Regions from separate parts of the Homo sapiens genome. Here regions 1, 2, 4 and 5 are each linked to region 3. The links are contacts of gene promoters, found by promoter capture Hi-C in blood cells and fetal thymus (Javierre and others, 2016). All regions are on one chromosome and are shown on one strand. The core of a region is centred on a gene start or on the middle of the fragment in contact, and the rest is flanking DNA. Distances in the headings are between cores, read along the strand shown. Region 1 overlaps CTIF (cap binding complex dependent translation initiation factor). Region 2 overlaps DYM (dymeclin). Region 3 holds the start of SMAD7 (SMAD family member 7). Region 4 overlaps DYM (dymeclin). Region 5 overlaps DYM (dymeclin).

What was found. The method cuts DNA at HindIII sites, captures the fragments that hold promoters and counts their contacts. A CHiCAGO score of 5 or more calls a contact.
Region 1: a fragment that was not itself captured here is called in contact with the fragment with the promoter of SMAD7 in region 3 in 4 of 17 cell types (M1 macrophages, endothelial precursors, M2 macrophages and 1 more); the score reaches 9.8 in M1 macrophages.
Region 2: a fragment that was not itself captured here is called in contact with the fragment with the promoter of SMAD7 in region 3 in 1 of 17 cell types (M1 macrophages); the score reaches 7.5 in M1 macrophages.
Region 4: a contact is called between a fragment that was not itself captured here and the fragment with the promoter of SMAD7 in region 3, in 1 of 17 cell types (M1 macrophages). The highest score is 6.7, in M1 macrophages.
Region 5: a contact is called between a fragment that was not itself captured here and the fragment with the promoter of SMAD7 in region 3, in 3 of 17 cell types (non-activated CD4 T cells, total CD4 T cells and activated CD4 T cells). The highest score is 6.1, in non-activated CD4 T cells.

What each region holds. Positions count from the first base shown.
Region 1 is chr18:48,689,197-48,691,896 of GRCh38, forward strand. All of the region lies in intron 6 of CTIF (cap binding complex dependent translation initiation factor), which reads left to right. LOC105372107 (a long non-coding RNA gene) reads right to left here. Exons shown (of 4, transcript XR_007066460.1): 1 at 2,677-2,700. Among named protein-coding and RNA genes, the nearest start is that of MIR4743, 20 kb to the left of the region's middle. The HindIII fragment of the contact is 6,421 bases long and covers 1-2,700 here.
Region 2 is chr18:49,239,895-49,242,594 of GRCh38, forward strand. All of the region lies in intron 13 of DYM (dymeclin), which reads right to left. Among named protein-coding and RNA genes, the nearest start is that of MIR4744, 190 kb to the left of the region's middle. The HindIII fragment of the contact is 3,396 bases long and covers 1-2,700 here.
Region 3 is chr18:48,949,625-48,952,324 of GRCh38, forward strand. It overlaps SMAD7 (SMAD family member 7), which reads right to left and starts at 1,341. Exons shown (of 4, transcript NM_005904.4): 1 at 188-1,341. The coding sequence starts at 800. RefSeq lists silencers at 279-598, 1,815-2,514. The HindIII fragment of the contact is 3,263 bases long and covers 1-1,748 here.
Region 4 is chr18:49,210,586-49,213,285 of GRCh38, forward strand. All of the region lies in intron 13 of DYM (dymeclin), which reads right to left. Among named protein-coding and RNA genes, the nearest start is that of MIR4744, 160 kb to the left of the region's middle. The HindIII fragment of the contact is 4,430 bases long and covers 1-2,700 here.
Region 5 is chr18:49,409,978-49,412,677 of GRCh38, forward strand. All of the region lies in intron 2 of DYM (dymeclin), which reads right to left. Among named protein-coding and RNA genes, the nearest start is that of DYM, 49 kb to the right of the region's middle. The HindIII fragment of the contact is 1,882 bases long and covers 502-2,383 here.

The DNA of each region.
Region 1 (2,700 bases), core at 118-2,617, 260 kb before region 3:
GTCAGGCCTGTGGCTTCCTTTTTCATCCCTGAAGGAGGCCACTAGCCACATGGCGACTTTTTGCAAATTAGAAAGAGGTGCCCCTTCCTCAGCACAGCCTCTGTCTGATATTGTCATAAAAATAACTCAAATCTATGAGGACAGAGTGGCCGAGTCACCTCCTGGGGTTGTTCAAAGCATGCAGAAGCAGCAGCCCGCTCTCATTTTAAGTGGATTTCACATGCTGCAGCTTGAATTGAAGGCTTGGGTCACTAAGTCATTTTCTAGAAGGCCAAACTTTGAGTTGAGAACCTTTCAGCTACAGAGAACCCTCCGCTGAAGGGTAATGTCTAACAGCCAAGAAGGCAAGTTTCCTCCATTCTATTTCTTCAGGAGGATGGAGTCACGAGGTCATAGGAGGGCCCACCTGAAAGGAGCCTTCATGGTTGTCCATATAACACAGCCCCTTTCAGTCTGCACTGAGCCAAACTCAAGCCCCAGGCCAGCGCAGATGAGCTGAATTCTCAAGGTTGTTGTGAGTCAGAGGTCACTGTACACAGGAGAGAGATTCCTGCTGTCCAGGAGGGGCTAAGTGCAAAGGTGACTTTCAGGGAAGAAAAGGTCACTACCTTCCCCTGCCGCAGTTAACTCTCTGGGCAATGGGTCCTGGGCATGAGGCACTTGTAAAGCTCCCCGAGTGAATCTGGCTTGCAGTCATGGCTGAGCCCCTCTGCCCTAAGGTATTAAAGACTTATCCCATTTCCCCAGTCTGTGAGATACTTACATCATAGAAAAATAAGCAGTTAGCCAGGACTTGATCCTAACTTATAAAACATTAGTTCAGTAGCTTCTGTCATCTTGAAATTGATCATGCCCAGCCTTATTTTCTCCCTGTCCTATAAGAAGGTAGGATTCCTCAGAGCAGGGCTCATGTCTTCTTTGCCATTGTGTTTCTTATAGGTGACACTCTCTCCCCCATCTCCACCCCACCCCGTCCTTCACCAAAACTCATCAATTTCATTCTAAATTTTATTTTATTTGGGCGTTTACAGACTCTCCTTCCATCCACTATGGCTTCCCTAACTCCTCCGCTAGTCCTCCTTGCCCCTTGGCTGTTGTGACAGCCCCTTACCAGTCTGCCCTGGGTTTGGTTTAAATCCCCTAAATCCAGTCACCTCTAGCATGACCTACAAAGTGCACACATCTAGCTAGTTTCCTGATTTGCTCCAGCCTGTCCTTGCCTTCCATCACGTGGAAGACAAGCTCCTCTCATGCACGGTCATCCCAATCCAGCCCCTGCATTTCCTTCCAACCCTGCATCCCACATTTTCCCTATCTTGCACCCCATGTAACAGCACACTGGACTAGCTGTGGAGCCCTGAGTACAGAAGGGCCAGGTCTGTCTTCTCCTGGCTGATCCATCATGACCTGGCTCGGGGATTGGCTGTGGAAAGTAGTCCACAAACACTTAAGGAACACTCTCTCAGCAGCCCTGGCGCACCCTGCAACACGCACAGGACCCAGAAGGCATCCTCCCAGAGCCGGAACACAGGAGCCTGCCCCGCTCCACCTCTTCCAAGCTGCATGGACTTGACCAAGCACCTTTACTTCCCCATTTCCTCCTATCTAGGATGGAGATAATAAAACCTCCTCCCTGCAAACCACCATCTCAGAAGGCTGTAGTGAGAATCAAGCAAGACAATAATGGAGAAACTTCTTTGAAAACAGTGAGGTGCCAGTCAAATCTAAGGGCTTCTGAGAGGGCAGCAGTAAATAGGTATTGCACACGGCAGCTCCTGGGGCCCACTGGGAGCCACTCACCACGAGCATGGTGCACGTGCCTGTGAGCAGGGCAGACAGAGTGGCTGCAACACAGGCTTCTTCCTTCGGTATTTTTATAAAGGGAATCGGGTGAAGGAAATGTCTTGGAATAGACAATCTTCCTAAACTCCCCCAAAATAACTTCAGTGGAAACAATTGTAACGTCCACTCTGCCGGCATTGTTTCAGTCCACTGTAGTATGGGAAAAGTCTCCCGGCATTTCCAACTCAACTGGGAATCCACTTGACTTCCAGACGTCTAGAAACAAAGGGATTGTGCCCAAGGGCCACTCTGGGTGTTCGTGGCCCTCTGGTGCCGAAGACAATTCCAGGGCCTGTGTATAGCTTACTCTTCCTCTCTCCCTCCCTTTGGGAGACATATTTGCTGAAGGGCTTTGTATTTTCCCATACATAACTTTGTAGGGGTCGTTACCAAAATAGTTTGTTAGAATACACTTGAGATTCTAGATTTCCCTCCAGTCAGTCACACAGCCCAGTGTTCCAGATTCGAGGCCTCCCAATGCTCAGTGACTCTTTGCCACCTGCACCAGATAGAATCAGTCCTCTCCTAAAAGGTCTTTCCTTCTTCCTTTCTCTAGCTGGGAACAGGTGCTCATGTCCCCAGTCCTTGTCTGGTCTTCCTGTCTCCCCACTCCTTCTCTTGTGAGTCTGTCCTCCTCAAAGAAATTGTCCAAGCATCTTTGCTCACTCCTGTCTCCCCTTTCCCTCTCCCTCCCAGACCCAAGTGGTGACACCAGCTCTCCCCTGGCCTGAGACAGATCTGAAGCCCTGGAATGTTTCTTCACTCCCTCATCTATTCTTATCCTCCACCGCCCCTCACTTGCTGCCCCAGGTATTCCAGGACAATCCTATTTACCTGCCATTTTATCCTTTTCTTCTT
Region 2 (2,700 bases), core at 180-2,679, 290 kb after region 3:
AATTTATTTCATAACCACACCCAGGCAAGATAAGCAATAAACTTAAAAGGCAATTTAGTACAGTAACATTGTTTTTTTATGACTTTTTAGAATAGAGACCATGAGCTCTTACAGAGAATAAACATGATTTATATATTCTGTATACCCCTTCTCTTTCAACCTCTGATAACTATGTTCTCAATAAATATTTATTAAATGGAAGCATGAATAATACAAATATAGTTAAATATTGATTATACTGATGGAAGGAAGGTATAATTCAGAAATAGTAGATATTTAAAAGTATATACACTGAACTCTGTAATACAGACATGCTCACATCCACTCTACCTATCTCATCCTGAAAGGGCATTAGAGTGCTGGTTCTTATACTTTTCTCAGGGCCCCTTTCAACTCTTAAAAATATTAATGAGAACCCCAAAGAATTTTTTCATATGTCAGTTATACTGACAGATATTAAAACTGAGAAAATATTAAATATTTACTAATTCATTTAAATTTAATAATAAACACATTACATGTTAACATTAATACAGTTAATGAAAAAGCCCCTTTAGTCATTTGAGAGATATTGGTTCACTGAATTATGCAGATCTTCCAAATGTTGACACATTTCATCAAATAATAGTTTTTAAAATCCATATTTACTAACATCATTGATGTTATAACAAAAGTCTAAATTATTAGGAAGTTGTCAAACTCATGATGCCAAATATAAGTTTTTCGAAATTTTAATTTTGACTTGAAAATTTTTTTTATTGGCAACCAACACTGGCAGTTTCCTCTCTGCCAAGACTGTCTCATGTTCTTTCGTGTAAAAATGCTATTCCATCAGAAAAGTGGCTAGTTCAGCTCACAACTCTATCACACACCTGCTTTTCCTCAAGACAATCATTGGAACCCAGTATGGAGTAGAAGTGCATTATGTGAGCTTCTAGTTTTACAACAGAAAATATCAAAAAGATGTACTCAAGGGTCAAGATTTATAACAACTAATCATTTTTACTATTTCGCCAAGGACATTTTTCAGTGAAGATGGTTTTTATTTTACCACAAATGTGTGTGTGGTTGTGGAAAATATAGTGAGTACTAGTACAGTTAGGCACCACTTGATTTATGCTAAGGTCTCAGCAGTTTTACCCCAACTTTGCTATTGTACCCTTGATGCAAATGTCAGCACAGTGGAAATGGCAAATGATGTCTTATTATAAAAGGCTTAGACTCCATGGACTCTCTGTGGCCCACAGAACACACTTCGAGAATCAATGCACAGAAGTGATCCAAGACTGCACAGAAACTTTATATAGTGGACATTCTACTCACTCACAACTGAGAATCTGAGTGCAGGTATAAGGTAGATGATGTCTGCCTATCCTTTTCAGCTTTATCAATGTCAGGTCTGCCAAAAAGAACATTTCTACGCTAGGGTCAAACTTGGATTTCAATTTCAGCTCCACACTATTAGCTACATGACCTTGGCTAAGTTTCAGTCTGAGTCTCAGTTTCCTCACCTATTAAACAGAAATTCTGTACCTTATAGATGGCTAGACTTATAATTAAATAAGACAGCATCCATATAACACTGACTAGCAATATGAGTGATAGAGTAAGCCCCGAACTCAATCAGATTCTAAATGACTAAGGACCAAAACTATGGCTAATTTCCATGTTTTGGAAGATGGTGGTAACCTGATTTTATTTTTCTCTCCACCACTTGTAGAGGGACCAAATAATAAATGGATATTCATAAAAATGTACCTCTTTACATAATGCAATTCTGATAGATGAAATGATGTCAGGAATTGCTTCCAAATAATCCAGGGTAGGGAGAAAAAGGAGGGGAAATAAATGAAATAGTTTGTCAAGAACTGATATCTGCCGAAGGTAGGGGCTGACAATCTAAAGTTTCATTATATAATTCTCTTCAAACATATTTCGAATTTTTCAAATTAAAAAGGAAAAAGCTGATCACTCATTTGAGGCTTCTATAATAATTATGCTTCGACTGTCGTTAAGTTAATAATGTACAAATTCAGTTTCTACGATAAGTCACCTTCTACGCTGCGAGTTATCAACCATTTTCCCAGCACTACAACATGCACCACACATGTTCTTCAGGCGTCTTTCTGCAAAGATGAGTCAGACAGGCTGCCTGGAGTTACACTCCACTTGCTCTCACCCCACCCCACCATTCCACTGTGGCTGAGAACTGCTGATCTAATTTAAAGTAATCTGGGCTGGGTGCAGTGGCTCACGGGTGTAATCCCAGCACTTTGGGAGGCCGAAGCAGGCAGATCACCTGAAGTCAGGAATTTGAGACCAGCCTGGCCAACATGGCGAAACCCCATCTCTACTAAAAATACAAAAAAATTAGCTGAGCATGGTGGTGTGTGCCTGTAGTCCCAGCTACTTGGGAGGCTGAGGCATGAAGATCGCTTGAAACTGGGAGGCGGAGGTTGCACTGAGTGGGAAGTGCCACTACACTCCAGCCTGTGTGACAGAGTAAGACTCCGTCTCAAAAAATAATAATAACAATAAAAATGCATAAAGTAATCTGAGTATTTCAACCATCTTATAACTGTAATATACATTGAAAAATAAAGTTTCCTGAGTAAGAAAACAAATTAAAATTGGATGAAGGTCAGCTTGACACACAGCCTCTAGATGGGTTGTATTTTAATACATGGTTTATTTTCATCA
Region 3 (2,700 bases), core at 91-2,590:
TCTACTTTCAGCCCCCAGTCTCTTCCCAGGAGGGTATGCACACTCTCCCAGGAGGGTATGCACACTCTCCCAGGAGGGTATGCACACTCCCCCTGGAGGGATGGCTGCACAAACGCACTGCCCTAGGGGCTTTTCTTCCAGCACTGGCGCTCCGGAAAATGTTGGGGGTAGGGGGACAACTTCTCACCTAGTTCGCAGAGTCGGCTAAGGTGATGGGGGTTGCAGCACACCAGCTCGGGGTTGATCTTCCCGTAAGATTCACAGCAACACAGCCTCTTGACTTCCGAGGAATGCCTGAGATCCGGCCACCTGAACACTTTGCACAGCAGGAGGGGGAGCGAGTAGGACGAGGGCGGCTGCGCAGGCTGCGCGCCGGCGGGCGCCCCCGGGCCCAGCCTGCAGTCCAGGCGGCCGGGCAGCAGGAGGCACGCGGTGCGCGTCCCGCCGCGGGACTCCACGGCCTGGAGCAGCAGCTCCAGCTGCCGCTCCTTCAGTTTCTTGAGCACCGAGTGCGTGAGCGCCTTCAGATCCGCCTCGGCGCCCCCGGCCGCGCCGGCGCCCGCGGCTGGCGGGTGGGGATGGTGGTGACCTTTGGCACCTCGCACCGCCTTGCCCAGGCAGCATCCAGCCCTGCCCGGGCCGCCGCCACCGGCCCCATGCGCTCGGCTGTCCGTCGCCCCTTCTCCCCGCAGCTCGCCTCCTCCTCCACCTCCCCCTGCGCCCTCCTCCTCGTCCTCGCCGCCGGGCGCACGGCTCCTCCAGAGACGCCGGACGAGCGCAGATCGTTTGGTCCTGAACATGCGGGGCGAGGAGGCGAGGAGAAAAGTCGTTTGCCTGCTAAGGAGCGAACATGACCTCCGCACACCATGAAGAAGTCGGGCGCCGAGTTGGGGCAGCAGGCGCAGGCGACAGCAGCAGCAGCAGGGGCCCGGGCAGGAGCGGCGGCGGCCCGAGGGGCGCTCCGTGGCATGCGCCAGTCTCCCGGAGGCCGGGGCGCGCGCGGGGGCCCGGGGGCGCCCGCCGGGGATCGGGGGCCTGCGCTCCGGCTGCCCCACCCCGCGCGGCCCGCGCCCTGCGCGGCTCTCCGGCCCCGGCGCGCCCCGGAGGAACCCGGCCGCCGCTTCCCTGGGGACGGCCGAGCCTGCCCCCGTCGGCGCCTCCCCAAAAAGAGGCCCCCCCGCAGTGGCTCCCGAATGTCGGGCTCGCCAGCCTCGGCTTCCTACATGGAAGGTCCGCGGGGGCAAAAAACGAAAGGCGTTCGGCTGGGCTGTTGGAAGAAGGAAAAAGCCTCTTTCCCCCTTGCTAAGCAACTTAATTTGGGGGTGGGGAGAAGCAGGCAATTAAAAAAAAAAAAGCAAGCGATTTATTTTTTTCCTCTATATCCTTAGTAACCGGATCTCCTCGAATTCCGCGCACACGAAGACTCAGGGGAGGGGGCCGAGTGGACTTCACCCCGCATGAGACGTCTGGCAAAATAAGAAGGCTCTCGCAAAACCTAACAACCAAATATGCAAAGCCCCAAATGAAAACCACCACCTCCTCGAACCTCAGAGGTCTGGGGGCGTCCGGCTGGAACTGGGGTTTAAAAAAAGAAAATGTTTACAAAGTATAACAAGATGTTTGATGGGTGGAAAAATGTATCCACGAGTTACATCCCCCCGTTTCCTTGCAAAGCCCCGCTGGTCTTCCTCTCCTTTTCTTCTGCCAAAAAAAAAAAAAAAAATCGTGTATTTTTTTAATCCACAGAAAGCTTTGGCTAGACCGCTTCAATCCTGCGCATCTGGGTGGTTTAGGGGAGTCTCTGGTCTTTCCCCCTGCGCTCCTGGGGGCCCAGGTCCTCGGCGGGGACTTCCTCGAGGCTGGCGCGGGCGCAGGGGCAGAAGATGCTGCGGCGGCGGCTGAGCCCGGCGGGGCTGACAGCGCGGGGGAGGGTGGCGCGGCGGCGGCGGAGGGCCCCAGACGGGTCGCGCGTTCTCGCCCCCCCCGGGCACAAGCTGCTTGCTAGTGCAGGGGCCGCCGATGTCCCTTCCCCTGGCCGCGGCTGGCCGCCGAGGCTCCCCGCATGGGCTGCTCGCCTCGACCCAGCTGCGGCGGCAGGAGGCCCCGGTGTCCTCTCGGCGCCTCCTCCTCCGAGACTCTCCTCGTCGCGCCCGGGAGCCTCCTTGTCCCCGGTCCGCCCTCTCCTGGCGCTCCGGTCCTTCTGCCGCCGCCAGGGGCTCGCCGCGCCGCACTCAGGGGCTCAGGGGCCGGGCGCTCGGCGGCTCGGCGCCGACGGACTGGCTCTGTCTCGGGCAGCTCTCTCCCGCGCGGCGAGCGGACCGAGCACGGCGCCCGGCTGGCTCGGCTGGCGCGGCTCGGGGACAGGATCTTCCGTGCGCCGAGCAGCAAGCGAGTGTGCCCGGGGCTCACCGCCTCCCGCAAGGCCTCCCGCCCCCGCCCCCTTCCCTCCCCCTTCCTCCCCCTTCCCTCCCCCGCCCCCAGCCGCCGCAGCCGCGCCGCCTCCTCCCCGCCCCCCCGCACCCCCCCTCCGGCCCTCTGCTCGGCTGGTTCCACTGCGCAGTGGCGCGCCCGGCTCCGGCCTCGTCACGTGGCCGTCTAGACACCCTGTCGCTTTAAAAAAAAAAAAAAAGCGATTGTGTTTCGCAAACAACAGATCGGGTTTCTAAAAGCTATTTCTCCCCCCAACCCCCCGCCACCGCC
Region 4 (2,700 bases), core at 177-2,676, 260 kb after region 3:
AGGACAGTGAAGCTACTGTATTACTACTATAATGGTGGATACATACATTTGTCAAAAACCAAAGAATATACAACACCAAGAGTGAACCCTAATGTAAACTATGTAGTTTGGATGATTATGTGTCAATGCAGTTTCATCAACTATAACAAATACGTCACTCTGGCACAGGATGTTGATAGTGGGGGAGGTTGGAGGCCAGGGGATATATGGCAACTCTATACTTTCTGATCACTTTTGCTGTGAACCTAAAACTGCTCTTTAAAAAGTCTATTTAGGGGAGAAAAGGCATACTCACTGGGAGAAAAGTCTCAAAATATGAGGCTGTCATTAGTGAACCACATAAAATACGCCTTGGTAGAACAAAGTGATACAAAATACTTTTTCTTCACGGTATTAGGAATATGTTCCTGGCAAGTAGGCAATAATACTACTACAATATGGAAGAGATTATGGTAGAGAGAACACTGAATTAGGAGTCAGAAAACTTAGAAATCCTTTGGAAAAGTGCTTGCAAAAATAAAATTTTTTAAAGAAAGACAAAACTTAGAAATCTAAATCCTGCTCACCCATTGGCAGCTTTATAATAGTGGGTGTATGATCTCTCTAAGCCTCAAACCCATAAGCGAACAACATAGTAAAAAATTTTAAACCGCTCCAAGATTTTAAAGTGATATTACAAAAAATAAAGTAATAAGAGGACCAATAAGAATTATTACTATTATTGTCAGAGTAATTTCACTGACGCCACATTTCAGGCCATTTAAAAATAGCAAGCTAGAGAGAAGAGAATGTAAAATCAATCTGACAAGGTGAATCAACACAATAGTGAACATATCTGATATGTCTTGGCTATTATTAGTCCTTGAGAATCATGTCTGAAGAACTACATCAAAACTATATCAAAGTATTAATACCAAGAGGGTGATAGGTAATTTTTAAAGTATGTTGAACTCAAAACTAGTAAGTTAGAAGATTTGAAATGGGCAAATTTCCACAAACGAACAATCCATTCATCCATTCAACCACCAGCCTATCAAACAACCAATCAGTCAAGCAGTAACTACTATCTACTGCATGTGGGAATAGTGCTGGGCATTGAAGACAGGGTGGGGAATGATGTACACACAATCTCTACCCTTAGGGAGCTTACAACCTAGAGCAGGAGACAGATTATTAGACAAAACAAAATTCCTCTGAAATAGAGAAAGTCTTAAGAAGCTGTTAATCTCCAAAACAGAGTAGTTAAAAATCTTTTAAAGTAGGCTTATATTTAAAGAGATATTTCTATTGAGTCTTGGAAAGGATTCTAGGACTCCATCTACCAAAAGAGAGCAAAAACTTAAAATACAAGAAACATATTCTTGAAAAATGTGTATCACCAGCACTTTAAACAAGGGATCACAGTTAACATTAACATCAGTAATGGAACAAGTAGATGTCATGTGGCTCCTGATATGATCACAGCATAGCCAAAATCTAATTCCCAAAAAATCAAGCAAACCAAAATTGAGGGACATTCTACAAATAAACAAAAAACTGTTCTGTATTCTCCAAATTTTAAAGGCCATAAAAGACAAAGAAAGACTGAGGGACCATTCCAGATTAAAAAAGATGAAAGAAGACAACTATATGTAACATGATTTTGGTATTAGATTCCTGACTTGGAGGAGAAAAAAGGCATTTTTTACTTAAAATAGTTTTTATCAATGTTAATTTCCTGATTTTGAAAAATATCCTTATTTTTAAGAAATACACCATGTAGTACTTAGCAATGGGACATCATGTCTGTAAACTTATTCTCAACCATTTCAAAAAAAAGAGACAAACACAATAGTAAAGCAAATGTGGTAAAATTTTAACATTTGGGAATGTGAGTTAAAGGTAAATGAAAATTATTTGCACTATTTTTGGTAAAACTAATTTTTTTTTTTTGAGACAGTCTCATTCTGTCACCCAGGCTGGAGTACAGTGCCACAATCATAGCTCACTGCAGCCTAAACTACCTAGGCAAGTGATCCTCTTACCTCAGCCTCCCAAATAGCTGGAACCACAAGTGTGTGCCACCACACTCAGCTAATTTTTAAAATTTTTACTAGAGGCAGGGTCTCACTATATTGCCCAGTCTGGTCTTAAATTCTTGGGCTCAAGTGATCCATCCACCCTGGCCTTCCAAAGTGTTGAGATTACAGAAATAAGCCACCATGTCCGGCCTAATTTATTTTTAATCTGAAAAAAAAAATAGAACTGATCTTTTTGATAAACTGAATAATATCCATTTTAAGATTATGAGATTCAAACCTAGAGCCCTAAAATGTCATTCTGACCTCTATACTTACAGCTTGGGACATCAGAAAAACAAGATCATGGGAAGGAGGCAAATGTGGTCTGGAGCTAGCCCATAAAAAACAGTCACTGTTACTTAAGAATTACTTTCACAAAAATAAAATTTCCTTAGTGCCTTCTTACAAGAAAATGTCCAAGATTGTGCAATGTATAGTTCTGAAATGTTATTTGATATGGTTATGCTTCACTAAAATAAAGTACAACAATATTCTGTCCTAGAACAACATTCAAGTCTGTAAAAGATGACAAAAACCACAAGCAAAAGAGTAATGCTTAAAAAAGATTCCAAGGTGAAGTTTTCTAATAATGTATTTTTCAGTACTTTAATAATAAAATTATAACACATTTCCATAGGAA
Region 5 (2,700 bases), core at 193-2,692, 460 kb after region 3:
TCATCCAACACTTTTTTCCTTTGTCATCTCAATCTGCTTTTCTACTAACTCATCTGTCTCTTTCTTCTTCATCTGAACACTTTGGATTTTGTGTGTGTGTGTTTTAGAGACAGGGTCTCGATGCATTCCCAAGGCTGGATTACAGTGTCATGATCCCAGCTCACTGCCGCTTAGAACTCCTGGGCTCAAGCAATCCTCCCACCTCAGCCTCCCGAGTAGCCAAGACTACAGGTGTGTGCCACCATGCCCAGCAAATTTTTTTTTGTAGCAATGGAGTCTCATTATGTTGCCCAGGCTAGTCTAGAACTCCTGGCCTCAAACAATCCTCCTGCCTTGACCCCCAAAGTACTGGGATTACAGGCATAAGCCACAGTACCCAGTCACTGGATTTTTAAGTATTATAAGAGGTACCAATGGACACTGCCAGGCCATGGTGTTGGTCCTCAGGGATTAAGGTTAAAAAAAAATAAGAAGTTGAATAATATATACTCTTAGAAGAAAAGCTTACCAATTGGTTGTATAATAACACCACAACCTCAAAAAAAAAAAAAGTCTTATTATATACATTTAGCAGACTTCACTGATCTGAAATTTACTAATTCAGGATTGGGGGCTGTTTGTCTAAAATTGAGTTGAAGCCTGGACAACATAGTGAGACCTTTTCTCTACCAAAAAAAAAAAAAAAATTAGCTGGGCATGGTAGAGTGCCTGTAGTCCCAGCTGCTCCTTGAGCCCTGGAGGTGGAGGCTGCAATGAGCTGCCCTCCAGCCTGGCCAATACAGCAAAACCCTGTCTCAAAAAAATTAAAATTAAAATTAAAATTAAACAAATTGAGTTGAAACTGACTTTTGTGTTATACTTTAAAGAAATCATTTTGACAAGGGAGAGGGGATTTAGAAAAAGTATTATTTAACCTTCTACAAAAGAAATGTGTTTAAAGATGTTAGCATATTATTGTCCATATGCAAATAAATTTGCTGAAATAACTTGCATTTTGTACAGGCCTATATACACTATTCAAAGTTCTTTCACCTTTATTATTTCATTTGATTTCTTTTAAAAACCCTGAGAAGTTGACCGAGGAAATGGGAGTATCCTCACTTTACAAGTGACAGAAATAGAGAAGCAGAGTAACTTGTCCAATGTCACGGTATAAGAATAAACATATTTAACTTCCAGATTAATACTCTTTCAATATGAATAATATTAAATGAGATACTCTTAAGGCAAACCCACATAATATCAACCTAGAAACACTCCAGCAACTAGTTGGAATTTCTATATATTCCTAAAAGAAGTTGTGTCACACATAAATTATTATAAAAAGTATATCTACATTATAATTCCAATCATGCAAAAATTATGTGAATTATAAAGAATTGGAAGAAAACAAAATTTTAAATCTAATAAGGAAAATGGTAAGATGATAGACGACTTTCTTGTAACTGCTATGAAATCATAAACTATAGTGTGGTCGGGAAGCTAAAATTTTAAATTAAGTATTCCCTACTTCACAGTTTTCTGTAATTTAGACTGGTTTTATTTTACTTTTAGGCACACCGTTCTCATATATGAATCTCAATAATGAAAAGTGAGAAATTAATAGCTCAAATATTTTTAAGAAAAGCAGATAGGCAAAAAAATTGTTGGGGGAGAAGTTATAACAGACCTCTGAACACAGGTTTGCTGAACAATCAAACTGTAAGTTTCATAACATAAACACTGAAAATCCTTAGTCCCTTCAGCTGAAAGTTCCGCCATAAAATTCTTTCAAAACTGACATTTTATATTAATGATGTCAATTTCAGCCAACAACATACAAATTCTGATAAATATATAATGTTAGTCAAAGATATAACCTGAAAAAATCAACAAGTAACGATTCAGGAAAGGACAGAAGCACTTCTGAAGACATTTTCCCCCTTACCTTAGCAAAGAGAATTACAGAAATCATTCACAAAACTAACAAGAATCAGCCAATTCAGTGGTTAAACTGTGGGAAGGTTAATGTTTTAAGAGGACCTATTAATAGGAAAAAGTCAAAGGACAAAAACTGCATATAAATTATAGCAATTTTTAACGCACCCATGCAGAACCAAAAAGGTGTTTACATTCATGTGATTCACAGACAATCGTATATGCTGTCATTCAACTGCCAAAATGAAAGGAAATATAACTATTAAAATGTCAAAATGTCAGCAACTACTATGCTAGATAATACGGTGTTTATTTTCCCAAGAAAGAGAAAAACATTGACTTAAAAAAAAAAAAAAAAAAATTCCAACCAACACAGTGAGAAAGAAGAGGAATCAAGGGTGCACCTGCAGTAAAACTTACATGTCCCTTTACTTTAATGCTTTAAAGGATATATTTCCCCCATTTAAGCTTTTAGTTTAAGGGACTGATTAATCCTGGGAAAACTTAAGCATCTTCTAAAATGATTTTTGCATAGAAAGGTATAAATGAAAGAATGGGAAATAAAGGTTTTGACTCAAGATGTAAAAACTGAACTTCTTGTGGTCCCTCAATTTGAAAAATATAATAAGATGCCAAGAAAAGTCTCAAATTATTTATTCCCTGAGTAAAACAGCCTAGTACATTATTTTGGTCACCAACCAAGCAAACCTACAAAGAAAAAGTTAAAACAGAATTTAGAAGATGGTTTAGCAGCGATCCCAGGCCCACCTCTACAACAGAGCA